2 separate regions of the Homo sapiens genome follow, and region 2 is linked to region 1. The links are contacts of gene promoters, found by promoter capture Hi-C in blood cells and fetal thymus (Javierre and others, 2016). All regions are on one chromosome and are shown on one strand. Each heading gives the region's core, a stretch centred on a gene start or on the middle of the fragment in contact. The rest is flanking DNA. Distances are from core to core; before and after follow the strand shown. Region 1 holds the start of MNS1 (meiosis specific nuclear structural 1). Region 2 has its middle 6.0 kb from the start of RFX7.

Region 1 (6,747 bases), core at 1,222-3,721:
ACTTAAACAGACATAACCACCAAATACACCGTATGAATGTTCCTTGGATCTTGGTTAAAACAAACCAACTGTAAAAGCAGATTTTTGACACAATCACAGAAATGTGTTTATGGAATGGGTGAGATAATAGTATTATGGTACTCCATGTAAGAAAACATCCATATTTTGTTAGATGTACACTTAACTATGTAGGAAAGAGTTGGTGTGATACCTGGGATATTCTTTCAAATTAAAGAGAAAATAATAAGAATAGGAAAAATATCCAACCCCTAAGATGTGCTTTCTCAGAGTTAAAAAAAAAAATCATATCTAAGCTTTTGAATTTGGAACACAGAAGGGTGGATATCATTTTTTAAATTTGCTTTTGTTATTCTCCACAAAATCCTCCAAAATGTTTAACATACAGCAGCTACTCAAAAACTACTGACATATCAGAATACCTTTTATATATTTATGAGAATTCACTTCTATCATGTCTCAATTCTTATTAGTTTCCCTTTTCTACCACCTTAATCCCTTAAAATGTTGAGATATACCTAAGGGTTCATTTTCTACCACTTAATAATGTATACATTAATTTCAGTAAATTTTTTAAAGGCACCCCTAAATTTTTGTTTTTAGAAATTTATGAAAGGCAACACAATTGTACTTACATGAACAAAACTGGTAGTAATTACAGAGTTCATATTTATGTTAAAAAAAAATCTGAGTGCTTATTCTGTACCAGGCACTATTCCAAGAGTCTTGCATGTATTAACTCATTATTAAAACAATCCTAAGTAGGAGGTACTATTCTTATTCCCCATTTTATAGAAAAAGCATAAAAAATAAAAGCAGGCTGGGCGCGGTGGCTCACCCCTATAATCCCAGCACTTTGGGAGGCCGAGGCGGGCGGATCACGAGGTTAGGAGTTCGAGATCAGCCTGGTCAATATGGTGAAACCCCGTCTCTACTAAAAATTAAAAAATTAGCCAGGCGTGGTGTTGCGCGCCTATAGTCCCAGCTATTCAGGAGGCTGAGGCAGAAGAATCGCTTGAACCCCGGAGGCAGAGGTTGCAGTGAGCCAAGATCGTGCCACTGCACTGCAACCTGGGCGACAGAGCAAGACTCCATCCAAAAAAAAAAAAAAGTAAAAGCAACTTACTCAAGGGTCCGTAGCTAAGGTATAGCAGTAGTAGGATTCAAAGACAGGCCGGCTCCAGAAACCCAGGTCTTTACGATTACACCGAGCTGAGGCACAATCAGGCATCACTTACCTGCTGCTGTTGTTTATCTACTCATTTCCAGCATTAACAGCTGACTTTCATCGTTTCCAAGGTGCAAAATGAAAAAAAAAGTAACAATGAATAGTAAAACTTACCTTTTGAATGGCCTCTTCCATATCCAACTCAAATTGTTCATTTTGTAATAATCTGAGAAATTGCTTGCGCTGAACACGGTTATCATTTTCATTCTGCACCATTTGATTCCTGATTTGACTGTTGACGTTTTTTAGAGCTTGGACATGTAATTTTTTGCAGTAGTTTTCATCTACTAATTTCTGATGCCTTTCACTACAGCTCAAATTTCTCCTTTTGGAACCCTACGATGGAAGAAAAAAAAAGATGCATATTTTGATATTCCAAAATCTAATTTTAAAAAATGTATTGATATAAACCTTAGTAAGAAAGGATACGAAGAGCCTGGCTTCCTTCCTAAATTCAAAGGAGTATACCGAATAAAAAGTAAACGTGGTAAATATGTTCACATATCGATTAAATAGGTACTGTTATTATTACCTATTTTATAGATGAAACATGAAAAGTAACTTTACCCAAGGTTCTGCAGCTAATAAATAGCTGTGCTAGGATTAATCGCACCCTACAGACCCAGATCTTTACTACCACCAGGGAATTTCTCCTCCCCTCATTCCACCCACCACCACCACCACCACGACTACCACCACAGGGCCATAAAGTGCTGTTCAGAAGCTGGTCAGATTTTCCTAACATAAATGTAATAGGTCAATTCGCCGCTATTTATCAATTCGCTTTCTCCTACACTTTTATATCTACTTATTTCTTCAGAGGTTCTATTGGGCAGATTTAAAGATGTATTTAATACACTATGCGAAAAGTGCCAAAAAAGCTGGAAACCACCGCGAGCGTCCCTTCTAATAGCACCTGAAGCCTCCGAAAGCAAATACAAGTTCCCCAATTAATGACCAGATTAAGCACTTAAAATCCTTTTTTAGAAGCAGATGAGCGCCAAACTAGAATTAAATCAACAATAAACAAGTAGTTTCAAGTCCCCCAACTGGCTCACCATCTTGGCTGACGAAAAATACCCCCTCTCGTGGGACCGCGGCCACCACCTCCCGCCGCAAACGCAGCAGCCAGCAGCCCCAAGGAGCGCACCTGGCTGCGCGCGCTCGGGTGTTTACGCGGCGTCTTGGCAACGGTGGAGCTGCGCGCCCTCCGCTCGACCAAAAGTGACCCACGCAGAACGTGGCCTCCCATTGGACGCGATAAGATACAATCGGCATTGAGCTTCTTAGGACCAGGGCAGGAGGGCTACTTCTATAGGTCTAAACTAGAAAAGCGGGAAGTTCAGACTGTGGCCTGACCCAAGCACTTTGCAGTGGGCTAGGGAAGCTCGATTTCCCTCCAGCGGCCGAACTGTGGTTTCAGTGGGTTTGGGAGCCAAGTTCGGGACTGTGGAGACTGCGCACAGAGAAATACGCAAACTACTGCCTAATGCATGGAGCCGAAGGAAATTTCCACGCATGGAGCATCCCGCACACTAAGTGCCTAGTCAGCCAGGTCTCTGCTAGGGACGATGACTGGTTTAATCCTCAGCAATGGGAGTCCAGGTCGCTGTCCCCTTTGCTGGGTTGTGAGGCACTGAGGGTAGCACGAGCTTCCAGCAGCCTTCACTTCACCCCCCCGCCCCCCCCCCCCCCCCGCAGAAGCTGCTGGTAAATTTTGGGACTAAAATCTATGAGCCACATGAATCTTACTCTGCTATGTGGTCCAGGTACCAAGAGAGAGCACGTTACATGATGGCAGGATGTTGATCTGGTTCATTCCATAGGCAGGTTAGACACTAAAGTCCATTTTAAATGGGAAGTTTAAGAATGATAATGGATCAGAGAAATTAGATATACTGATTTTAGAAATGATACATTCAGAGAAATCTTGTCAACACTAAAATATTTGTATAAGGTGATTAGTGGTATAACTTTGTGTTATTCTAATTTGGAGTCCGTCTTCTGTAGCAATATGTCTGCTTAAAGATTAATAACAAATGGGACTTGCAGTTTCAGTGCTGACGTGTAAAAGCTTGGAAGTTGTCACCCCATCCTTACAACCAGATCAAAACAACTAAAAATCAGCGACTTCTCTTGGTTCCATCATACAACTGAGGTCGCTCGTCTCTCTGTCCTTTGGTCATTTATCCCGTGGTTGCATATCTATGTTGTCTCTAGTACTCCACTCATTGCCATCACTGTTTGAGAGAAATGGAGAGAAGGCGTAAACCTGCCCTCTGGGTGTTCTGTGTAAATTGATCTGGAATGGAGCAAAGCAGGCAGCCTGCTATAAATTTCTCTTCTTGGCATATCCATCTCCGCAAAGGGTTGGGCACTGTATAGAAGAGACAGGAGACAGGCATGGGTTCAGGGTTGAACAGGGTATAACACATTCAATAGAGTGTGGGGTTTAATTTGTTAATTCCTAATAGTGAAATAGTGACATTGCAAAGTATTTCAGCAAACATGTATGTTTTTTACTGTTTACTTCTCGAAATGAAGACTTTCGTCTCTAAAGGGAACTTCAGTTATAATTCCTCATTTCCAGTATACCCTTGGATATGGTAGAAGGATTCATATAATTTCATAGGTAATCTGAGAAAAAGATTTTTGGCCAGAATATTGACCTAAATCCAAGACAAATTTAATCAATTGTAACAATTAGCTGATTTTAACCTTTAAAAAATTATCCTAACAATTACTACATTTTTAATAGACTTTGCTCCTTTTTCGAAGCAGTTTTAGGTTTACAGAAAAATTGACAGAATACAGAGAATTCCCCGTCTCACCTCTCCTCCCCACCGCACCCATACAATTTCCCCTATTTTTAGCATTACATATTAGTGTAGTACATTTGTTACACTTGACGAACCAATATTAATATGATTAAGTTCGTAATTGACATTAGGGTTCACTCTTTGTTTTGTACAGGTCTATGAGGATTTGTTTTGTTTTTTTTCTGAGATGAAGTCTGGCTATGTTGCCCAGTCTGTAGTGCAGTGACATGATCTCGGCTCACTGCAACCTCTACCTCCCAGGTTCAAGCGATTCTCCTGCCTCAGCCTCCCAAGTAGCTGAGACTACAAGCAAATTTTTGTATTTTTAGTGGAGACGGAGTTTCACCAGTTTGGCCAGGCTGGTCTTGAACTCCTGACCTCAAGTCATACACCCACCTTGGCCTCCCAAAGTGCTGGGAGTATAGGCATGAGCCACTGCTCCCAGGTGGGTTTTGAGAAATACATAATGTCATGTATCTGGCCAGGAGTGGTGGCTTGCACCTGTAATCCCAGTTACTTGGGAGACTGAGGCAAGAAGGTTGCTTGAGGTCAGAAAATTGAGACATATTGTCATATATCTATTATTACAGTATCATACAGAATAGTTTCACTGCCTAAAAAGTCTCTGTGTTCTACCTATTCATTTCTCCCTCACTCCTTCCTCCCAAACCCCTGGGAACCACTAATCTTTCTATTGTTTCTATAGATTTGCCTTTTCCAGAATGTCGTATCTTTGGAATCATACAGTATGTAGCCTTTTCAGACCGGCATCTTTCCCTTAGCAAAACTCATTTAAAGGTTCCTGCAAATCTTTATGTGACTTGATAGCTCATTTATTTTTATCACTAAATAACATTCCATTGCATGTCATTATTAAAAAACAATTATTACATTTAAATATTATTTCTAGTAATAAATTATTACTATCATAAATGATACTTCATTGTTAAGGGAGGACTTATGCCTTCCCAACATTACAAGGAAGTCTTCTCGTTCATTTCCCTCTAGAAAACAACTTTTTACCTACAAGTCTAGACTAAAATGTCTAGAGTACTGAGGGGAAGGAGCTTTTCCTTATAATGGATGATGAATTATACTGATTAATGTCCCCCAGTAGTTACAATATAACAGGGTTGAACTTAACAGAGTTGCTGATCTGAAATAAAGCATGTTAATAGATGTGCACTGTTAAGTGTAGCTATACAGTAAAAATTATTTACGAAATGGTATTGCTTTATAAAATAAAGCAATTAGAACAAAACAATTTTTCTTTCGTTCAGAAAAATGCCCAAATCTAATCTAATTTGCTGCAGCTGGACACCACCTGCAGATGACTGTTGAAATACTCTGAACATTACACACTTATCTTTTAAATATTGATAATGCCATTCTTCATTTTCTCGACATGAAATCCCAGAGGGAACAATTATGCTAATAAACCTTAATGATTCTTGCAAATAAGTGATCAAACCAAATTGCTGCTGTTGATTTATATTAATGGATGCCTTTAGGATGAGATTTGCTAGTATGGTGCTGCCTCTTGAATCTCAATTCATCTTATTTAGCTGAAGAGGGTACATAGTTTGTTAAATAGATGAAGTGTTTAAAATATAATGTGCTTGTGCAGTTTCTGCACTTCATAATGTTCAAGTATTACCATCTTGCCTTGTGGCAAATCTGCATTTAATGGTTTCATTGTATATAACTTCCTTTAGTACTTTTTCTGTCTGTCATATGCAGTTAGGAAGTGACTACTTTCTGGTTGATGCAGAATAGGCTAACTTCCATATATTGAATTTGATTGTTTCATTAAGACAAGAAAATCTGTTTCTGGATATTTTAGCCACCATAATCTGGGAATCATATGGACTGTGTGATGATGTGATCAAGTGCTAAATAATTGTTAGGGGTAAAGAGACATGAAGAAATGGTTGGTGAGCTCACTGAAACCCAGGCTTAGTGGATGTCTTTCGTTCCTCGTCTCTCACTTTCACTTTTGCTCTTGCATCTTCACTATGTCTACAGGAATAGGAGATTGCTGACTTCATGAATTCTAGCATAACACTGAGAAAGAACTACAGAATTGTAATATATTGATTTCTAGGGTTGAGAACACTACACAGAAAGAATGCTTATTCATTGTAGATATGAATAAAAATTTACCTGGGTAATTTTATTGAAAAGCCACTATTTGTAAATGAGTAGTAAAATAGAAGACTGGCATCTACATATTATGTATATAGGAATGGAATACAGAATTTGTGATGTCAAATAACTTGTGATGTCATTAGGAATTTGTTATATGATGCACAGAGACTGTAATTTGGCTAGCGGTGAAGTAAAGATGACCATATTAAATTCATCATGAAGAGTGGAGGAATCCCCTTCTGAATTATATAAGCTCTTATTGGTAAAAAGAAAAGTATACATATATACCTATATTTATATAGAGATATATACATGTGTAAACTATGTTTATATGGATTTTTTTCATTTCTTAACTTTAAAAAGGTACCAAATTTGATGACATTTGATATATTTATGGCAATTTTTCTAGTGAAAACTTAACCAGACCAAAAATTTTAAACGACTAAAGGCACGATTTTATTTATTGCAAAATTTTCTAATTTAGCAAAAAAACAAAAACAAAACACCACAAAAATGGGTGATCTAAACATGCAG
Region 2 (7,216 bases), core at 2,096-4,595, 220 kb before region 1:
AGGGAGTTGAAGGAGACCAGCAATGGGAGGGGTGGCAGAGAGTATCAGACTGAGGAGACCTTATTGCCAGAGTGAGATACCCTTTCAGGGAGGAAAGGGGCAGCCCTCACTACTCACTTAACATCTGGGAGTACAGTGGGTGTTTTGTTCCAGTCTTCAGAGAAGACTGTGAATAAAATCATGACATTAAGAAATCTGATGAAGTTACCCAAAATTTTGAGTGTGGACTCAAGCCAAACCCAGGGACCCTGAATAAAGGCAGGAGTGTAGCCATGTGCTTCTCATATTATGTGGGTTCCTTTGATTGTGCAACCCTGTACTGAGGACCCTCAAGGACCCAGAATCAATGTGGCTCATTTTCTCTGAGCATCATTTTGACTCTCTGGTAAATAAGGTAAGACATTGTAGTAAGCATGACTTTTTAAGATAACACACAAGTATTACCCAACCCTGAGGAGCCTAAGTTTATTCTCTACTGGGAAAGTGTACACCAGAGGAAAATTTTGAGGAACACTGATGTAGTGGGTTAGAAAAACCTGGCCTTGGAGTCAGAAGACCTGGGAATTCAAACCCTCTGTTTCGATCTCTATAAAAATGAAAATAATGATGTACATCAGAGGGTTGCTATAAGGAAAACATGAAAAGTTATAGGTAAACCAGGGAAGTGTTGTCCACATTTAGAGAGTATCTACAAGATGGATTGTCAGCACCTCAAAGGAAATGACTATTTTATTTATCCTAGTAGTCCCAGGACATAATTCCTGACTCCTGACTATTTAATAAATATTTGTGGAATTTAGTAGTTAACTAACCCTCATTTTCCTAGCCCAATCCATTATATTGTCTTGCTCTCTTGTGTCTGTAAACCTTGTCTCCTTTATGAAACTGTAAACATTTTATACTGTCCAGACTGTAGTATATACATTTATCATGCCTGATATATAGCAGTATTGGGCACGGAAAATATGAATAAATAAGACCTGGCCCCAACTTGAAGTAGTTTACATTTTTGTGAAGTAGAGCAACATATTAACATATATAAGATGATGAGTTATAAACATATCCACTAGTGTTGTGGAGTCATAATGGAGGGAGGGATTGGTCTTGCTCAGGGTAGAAGAACTGGAGAAGGCATCATGGCTGGCATTTTAATTGGGTCTTGTTGGATGAATAGGAGTTGAGTAGGCAGAGCAACAGAGGGAAGATGATTTCAGATAAAGGGAGTAACATGAGCACTGGTGTGAAGCCATGAAAGGGTACTGTTTGCTGAAGGAATAATGCATAGCACGGTGTTGACTCTGTGATCAGATCCTAAAGTAGTATAGGCGAGGGAAAAGAAGGAGAGAGAGACAAAAACCCACTTTACAAAATGTTACTTTGCATTATAGTTAGGATCGTTCTATCAAAGGAAGGCCTGAAAGTCGGTTTCATTATTGGTACATACTGATTAAGTGCTGAAAGTATACATTTCACTTCCACAAAGTATGGTGGTTTACCAGATATGGAAAAGGTAAAGTTCTACCCTGTTCTCCTTCTTTCCCAACTTGAATATAAAAATAAAATACTCCTCTCATCCTCTTTTCCCCTGATCATTACTTCCTCTGTCTTTTTCCATTGCAAGCTTTCTCCTCTAGAAGCTGAAAGTAGAGTTTAATGACCTACATGTTATTTAAGAGAACAAGGAAAGAAGGCTTTTCACCTCTCCCAATTCTTCCTTGATAGCAGAAAGTGATGGATAATTTCTTTCAGCTAAGCTGTTGTCTTTCAAAGTGCAAGTAGTCCTAGGAGGGCTTATATATATATAAGTTTCAATGCTGTAATGTGATTGAGCTTTCTTTCAGTCTTTAATAGCATTAGAGAGAAGAGGATGTGGGAGGGAGTGAAGAGGAGAAAAATAAAAGCAGCAGCAAGATTACAGAAGAGGGAAGTTGGGGGGTTCAGAACTAAGTTAATATTGGCAAATTTTGATACATGTTCTCAATACCAAGAGTGCTAATGTAAGTATGCTGTGAAAATGTGAATTCTTCTGTTAGAGCACAAATATGTCATTATGTCATTAAAACAATGTATAGCCCAGTGTTAAGGCTAAGTAGCCTAACTATTCAAATACTGTCAAGGCAGCAGACTGTTAACACTGTCACTACCTGGCTATGTGACCCTATCTGTACAAGTCATTCTTTCAAGTACCTTTGCTTATCTCTAAGGATTAGTGGGATAAAGTTCACATAATATACTCAGCTCTTCAAGTGAGTAGTATGATGAAACAAATGCTAGATCCCGCTTTGATTTCACTTAGAAATTTTCCACTGTTGGTACCATATACATGTTTATGTTGTAACTTTCAATTCTTTTACATTAAAGAAGGTTCAAGTTAATATCATCTACATACATTTTAAAGGAAGTGTTTACTTTAACTTGGGCCAAAAAGTCCCAAGTAGAAATTTGATATCTTAGAAATTCAGGAAAGGAGTGGCTGTGAACAGAAGCAGATAAAGAAAAACACTAAATTGTGACACTAAAAGTGTTTTAGTTATTTACTTAACACTAAAAGTGACAATGAAAAGACACCAGAGCCAATCCCACAGTGAGGAAGTCAGTGCCAGTGCAGTCTGAACAGGTGGGGCCTAACCAATAATTCACAAGGTCGATCATTCCTCCATTCCTTTCAAGGCACATTCGAGAACCTGCTATGTACAAGTTACTATATTGGGACCTTAGAAAGATTAAAAAATAAGTAGTAAAATATTGTTCTCATTTTCAAGAAGCTCATAATCTAATTGGAACACTACACATGTCAGCCCATACATATTTTTAAAAGTGAAATAAAAACACAAAAAACAAACAAAAGGTGTGTGACAGGATAATTTATTGAGCTATTTATTTGGGTTTTATGCTCCTTATATTTTCCCTCCCTTCCATTCCAAGCAGGCTTCAAGGGAACTTTGTGTTACTAGGCAGAAAGTTGTCTGACAAGAGCTCTCTCTTAGGCAACTCCAGGGGGCACCATTCACATTTTAAATGAAGCCTCCTGGAACAGGACTCCTTAGAATGCAGTGTCAATGTTATTTCTGGAATTGGACCCAGCAATCTGTCTTTCAAGTTTGTTGCTCCTTGAGGAGATGTTGCTAGGGGGTTAAAAAGGTAAGCACATCTGGGGAGAGAGAGAGAGGGAGGGAGGGAGGGAAGAAAGGAGGGAGGGAGGGAAGGAAGGAAGGGGCGCTGAGACAGGTGGATCACAAGGTCAGGAATTCAAGACCAGCCTGGCGAAGATGGTGAAACCCCGTTTCTACTAAAAATACAAAAATTAGCCGGGCATGATGGCAGGTGCCTGTAATCCCAGCTACTTGGGAGGCTGAGGCTAAGGCAGAGAATTGCTTGAATCAGGGAGGTGGAGGTTGCAGTGAGTCGAGATTGTGCCACTGCACTCCAGCCTGGGCGACACAGTGAGGATCTGTCTCAAAAAAAAAAAAAAAAAAAAAAAAAAGAGGAAAGAAGAAGCATCTATGGGCAGGTGGAATTACAGAAAAAAAAATTCCCATGAGCTGTAGAAAATCAAAGATTGGGGTTCCAGTAGTAAGAATAAGAGTACCCCAGGGAGATACTCTAACCTCATATGGATGCACAATGCCATTAGGGAGGCTGGATTCCCTTGCCTCTCTTGGCCCATAAGTGGAGGAATTGCCAGTGAGGATGTCAAAGTCCATCTTCCATTTTCTAGGCTCAACATAAGTCTTTCAAACCCTACTGCAGTACTAGGAAGAGAGGAAAGCCCAGTAAGAACTGAGATTGGATTTCCTTCTACTCCAGCAGAATTAAGGCTGAGATCACTTAAGTCTGTGGTAAATTTAATTTGATTTAAAGAATAGTGACATGTCTTGCACACCCAAATTTGTACTTGCAAATTTATACTTCCTAGTGGTGGATGCTATATAAAAAAGACACTGGTAGGTGAGATATATAAGATTAAAAACCAGTGAATGGCGTAGCTAATAACTGCTAAGGAAGTTTAGAGAAAGAGCAAAAGGAGCTAAAGTTAAAAGTGGCGTGGAGGACTTGGGATGGAGCTAGAGTGTGAGTAAAATGAAGGATTTATAAAGGTGGGAGAAAGAATGGAGACAAGTCCGAAGGGAAAGGCAGTGTGAGTAGAAGCAGGAAAACGAGCATGCAAATGACAAGACACACAGAAGACTGGTCTAATTGGAGTGAACAGCTGATGATAAAGGTTATATGGGGTACCAAATTCCGAGTGTATTCAAGCTAGTCTGAGGAGTTTGTGCTTCCATACTGTGTACAAAGCGAGGTTCTACGAGAGAACAAGTAGTAGGAGATATATATTTTATATTTGTATGTTTACATATTTTAAAGGAATTGGCTTATGTGATTGTGAGGCTGGCAAGTCTGAAATCTGTAGGGAAGGCCAAAATGCCTTGCATAGTGGATGCTGCAACCCACAGGTGAAATTTCTTCTTCCTTAGGGAAAAAAAAAAACAAAATAATTCAGTTTTGCTCTTAAGACCTTTCACCTGATTGGATGAGACCCACCAAAATTATTTAGGATAATCTACTTAAGTCAACTGATTGTAGCTAATTAACCACATCTGCAAAATACGTACCTTTACAGCAACATCCAGCTTAGAGTATGATTTGAATAGCTGGGTATGTGTCAACTTGGCTAGGCCAAGGAACCATGACACTTACCACACTCTGTAAGTCACTCCTCATGTATTTGAGAAGATGTCTTTGGATTTTCTTTATGTGGATCTCAGGAAAGGTAATTTCTTATGAAGTGGGCCAACCTGTCTCCTTTCCAAGAATAGATCTACTTTCTCTGCTCTTCCCTGTACATAAATGTTTATTCCCAAGGATGAATTTCTATTTTTCTTCATCCCTTTTTCCCTTACCATCTCCTGAAGTTATGCCAGTGTTATATTGTGGCTGATGTTAGTATGTTTTTGTTTTCTCCGTTTAAAATGCCTCTAATTATGCCTGTAGTGTCATTCTCCTAATTCAGCAAAGCCTCAGGTTGTCGGCCATATCCACAGTCACCCTCCAAGCCTGGCTCTGTTGATGTAAGCTTCCATCCTTGTCTCTTGTAACCCTGGCCCCCTAGTTGGAACAGGGCTCAACATTTGACACCATGACAATCAATCTTCCGGCTAGACAGTGGCTTATGAGCTGACTCAATAAAACCTTTGCCCAAGGAAGATGTTAGTAATTAGCTAACGGATTGATTCCTTTTTTGGAGAGTATGAATATGATAAGGAGAGAAGGTTAGGCAGTTGGGAGTAAAAACAGTAGCTGAAAGATACACAAGAGAAAGCTAACCTCAGAAACCATTAGACAACAACCAGAAGAGGCAATGATTAAGCAGAAACTGTGTGAAGAGGAGCTCAGAGGGCTTAAAGAAGATAAGATAATGGCTTAGTGTTGATAGGAGCAGTAGGCCCAGGGAATGATAGAAGCTGAGTAAATTTCCTCATGGAGCACCAGAGAAAGCAGGTGCAAATGAAGAGGAATGGATTATTGGCCAGGCCTTGGGGAAATTCAGGATAACCACCCAGAAATCCAGGAACAGACATACAAGCGACGGCATAGAAACTTAAGGGGAGCTGGGGAGTGAAAAGTTTGTTTAGGCTCCAGTGCAGCTCTAGCAACTGAATTATCTTCTCAGACACTCAGGAGAAGACTTTCATTACTTCCTTAGTTTAGTGTGATTTTCTCCTCCCCCAGAGAGTCTTACACATAAAGTTATGGTGTGAAGGGCTCACTCTTTTGTCAAGAATTGCATCCTCTCAGCAGTTTTCCCTTATCCATTCCCTACCCACTCCCAGCCAGTTTGTGTTAGCTGTCTCTTTTCTGTGGCTCTGTGGTACCTTGTACAGCCTTATGTCATACTATCTCATTGTAGGCTAATTGTAGGTTTGTTTGCCTATTTCTTGCATCTACACTCCCTCTACCTGACTTCCAGTACTACAAACTATATTTGGTCAGGAAGTATGTTTTTAATCTTCTCTATATCTCCAACATATACTATAGTCACTCCCACAAAGTAGCCAAACAATGAATGTTTGTTGAATTGAGCTATTAGAAAAACCTTTTTTTTTTTTTTTTGTCCAGGCCACAAAATAAAAGCAGAATGTCAGAAAAAGCAGAATGGGCTAATAAGAAAGCTCAATATCTTATTCATAATAATGGTGTAGGAGCTGAGAACATAGTTAATTTGTACTTAAAATTCATGTCTCCATGACTTTACAAAAATTTTTCAAGCAGCCAACTGTGTCTGTTCAGCCTGACATCTGGTGCTACAATTCTCCAGATTTAAAGGTACTCTGGCCAGCTTTGTTCCTTTTAAGGAAAAGAGTCTGCTGCGTGCTTCCTGTAACCTCTAGTTTCTTATCTGAATTCAGATCCACACTCTTGGGCAGATGAGGCTTGAGGCTGACCCTCATGGAGATCCCCCGGGCTTCCAAATTTAGAGTCTAGGATCCAAATCTCAGCTCTACCACTTGCCATTTTTGTGATCTCAGGCAAGTTCTTTGCTTCTCTGAGCCTCAGTTTTCCAATTGGTAAAAGTGGGGATAATAACTCCTTCACTCAGTTGTACTGATAATTTAATGAAAAATATTTCTGAAAATACTCCACACAATGCTTTACACATAGTAAAAGCCAAATAAATTATGAATTTCCCTTCCTTTTTTTCTGGAAGGTAGAGAGGAGAAGGGAAGGAATAGATTGATGGCAGGGGATAAGGGCCCTAAAAATGACAGGAGTCCTGAAAACCAAAAGTGGTGGCAGCCTAGTTTTTACATGCCACTACTTTATAGTCTGATAAAGCACAGGTCATGATCACTAAAAGCCACACGGCACCTAAGATAGCTGCTGCAAGAAATTCCTTGATCAGAGCACAGAAGGACATTCAAACTCTGCGTGTTTGAAATGCACAAAGCAGATAGGGAAAGAGGCACCATTGGATGGCAAGAAGAAAAAATTTTGCCTACACCAAGCAAAAAAACCCCAAAAATCATAAAACAAGGAGAGGTTCAACACATGCTATGTCAGAGAGTCCTGGGAGTGTACAGAGGTGTCTGACTTTAACCCCCTCCAAATATCAACCCCAGAACTGAAAAAGGAGAAAGAACGGAAGGTCTTCATAATCAGTTGGAAAATCTTACACAATATTTATAGGAACTTTAAACACGTATCCCTTCTGAGGTCC

What was found. Contacts are between HindIII fragments. The CHiCAGO score rates a contact against its expected background, and 5 or more counts as called.
Region 2: a fragment that was not itself captured here is called in contact with the fragment with the promoter of MNS1 in region 1 in 2 of 17 cell types (erythroblasts and megakaryocytes); the score reaches 7.6 in erythroblasts.

What each region holds. Positions count from the first base shown.
Region 1 is chr15:56,462,666-56,469,412 of GRCh38, forward strand. It overlaps MNS1 (meiosis specific nuclear structural 1), which reads right to left and starts at 2,472. Exons shown (of 10, transcript NM_018365.4): 1 at 2,305-2,472; 2 at 1,361-1,582. The coding sequence starts at 2,307. RefSeq lists a silencer at 2,402-2,651 and an enhancer at 5,975-6,024. The HindIII fragment of the contact is 3,006 bases long and covers 313-3,318 here.
Region 2 is chr15:56,246,285-56,253,500 of GRCh38, forward strand. It overlaps a transcript of TEX9 not described here. Among named protein-coding and RNA genes, the nearest start is that of RFX7, 6.0 kb to the left of the region's middle. The HindIII fragment of the contact is 3,453 bases long and covers 1,620-5,072 here.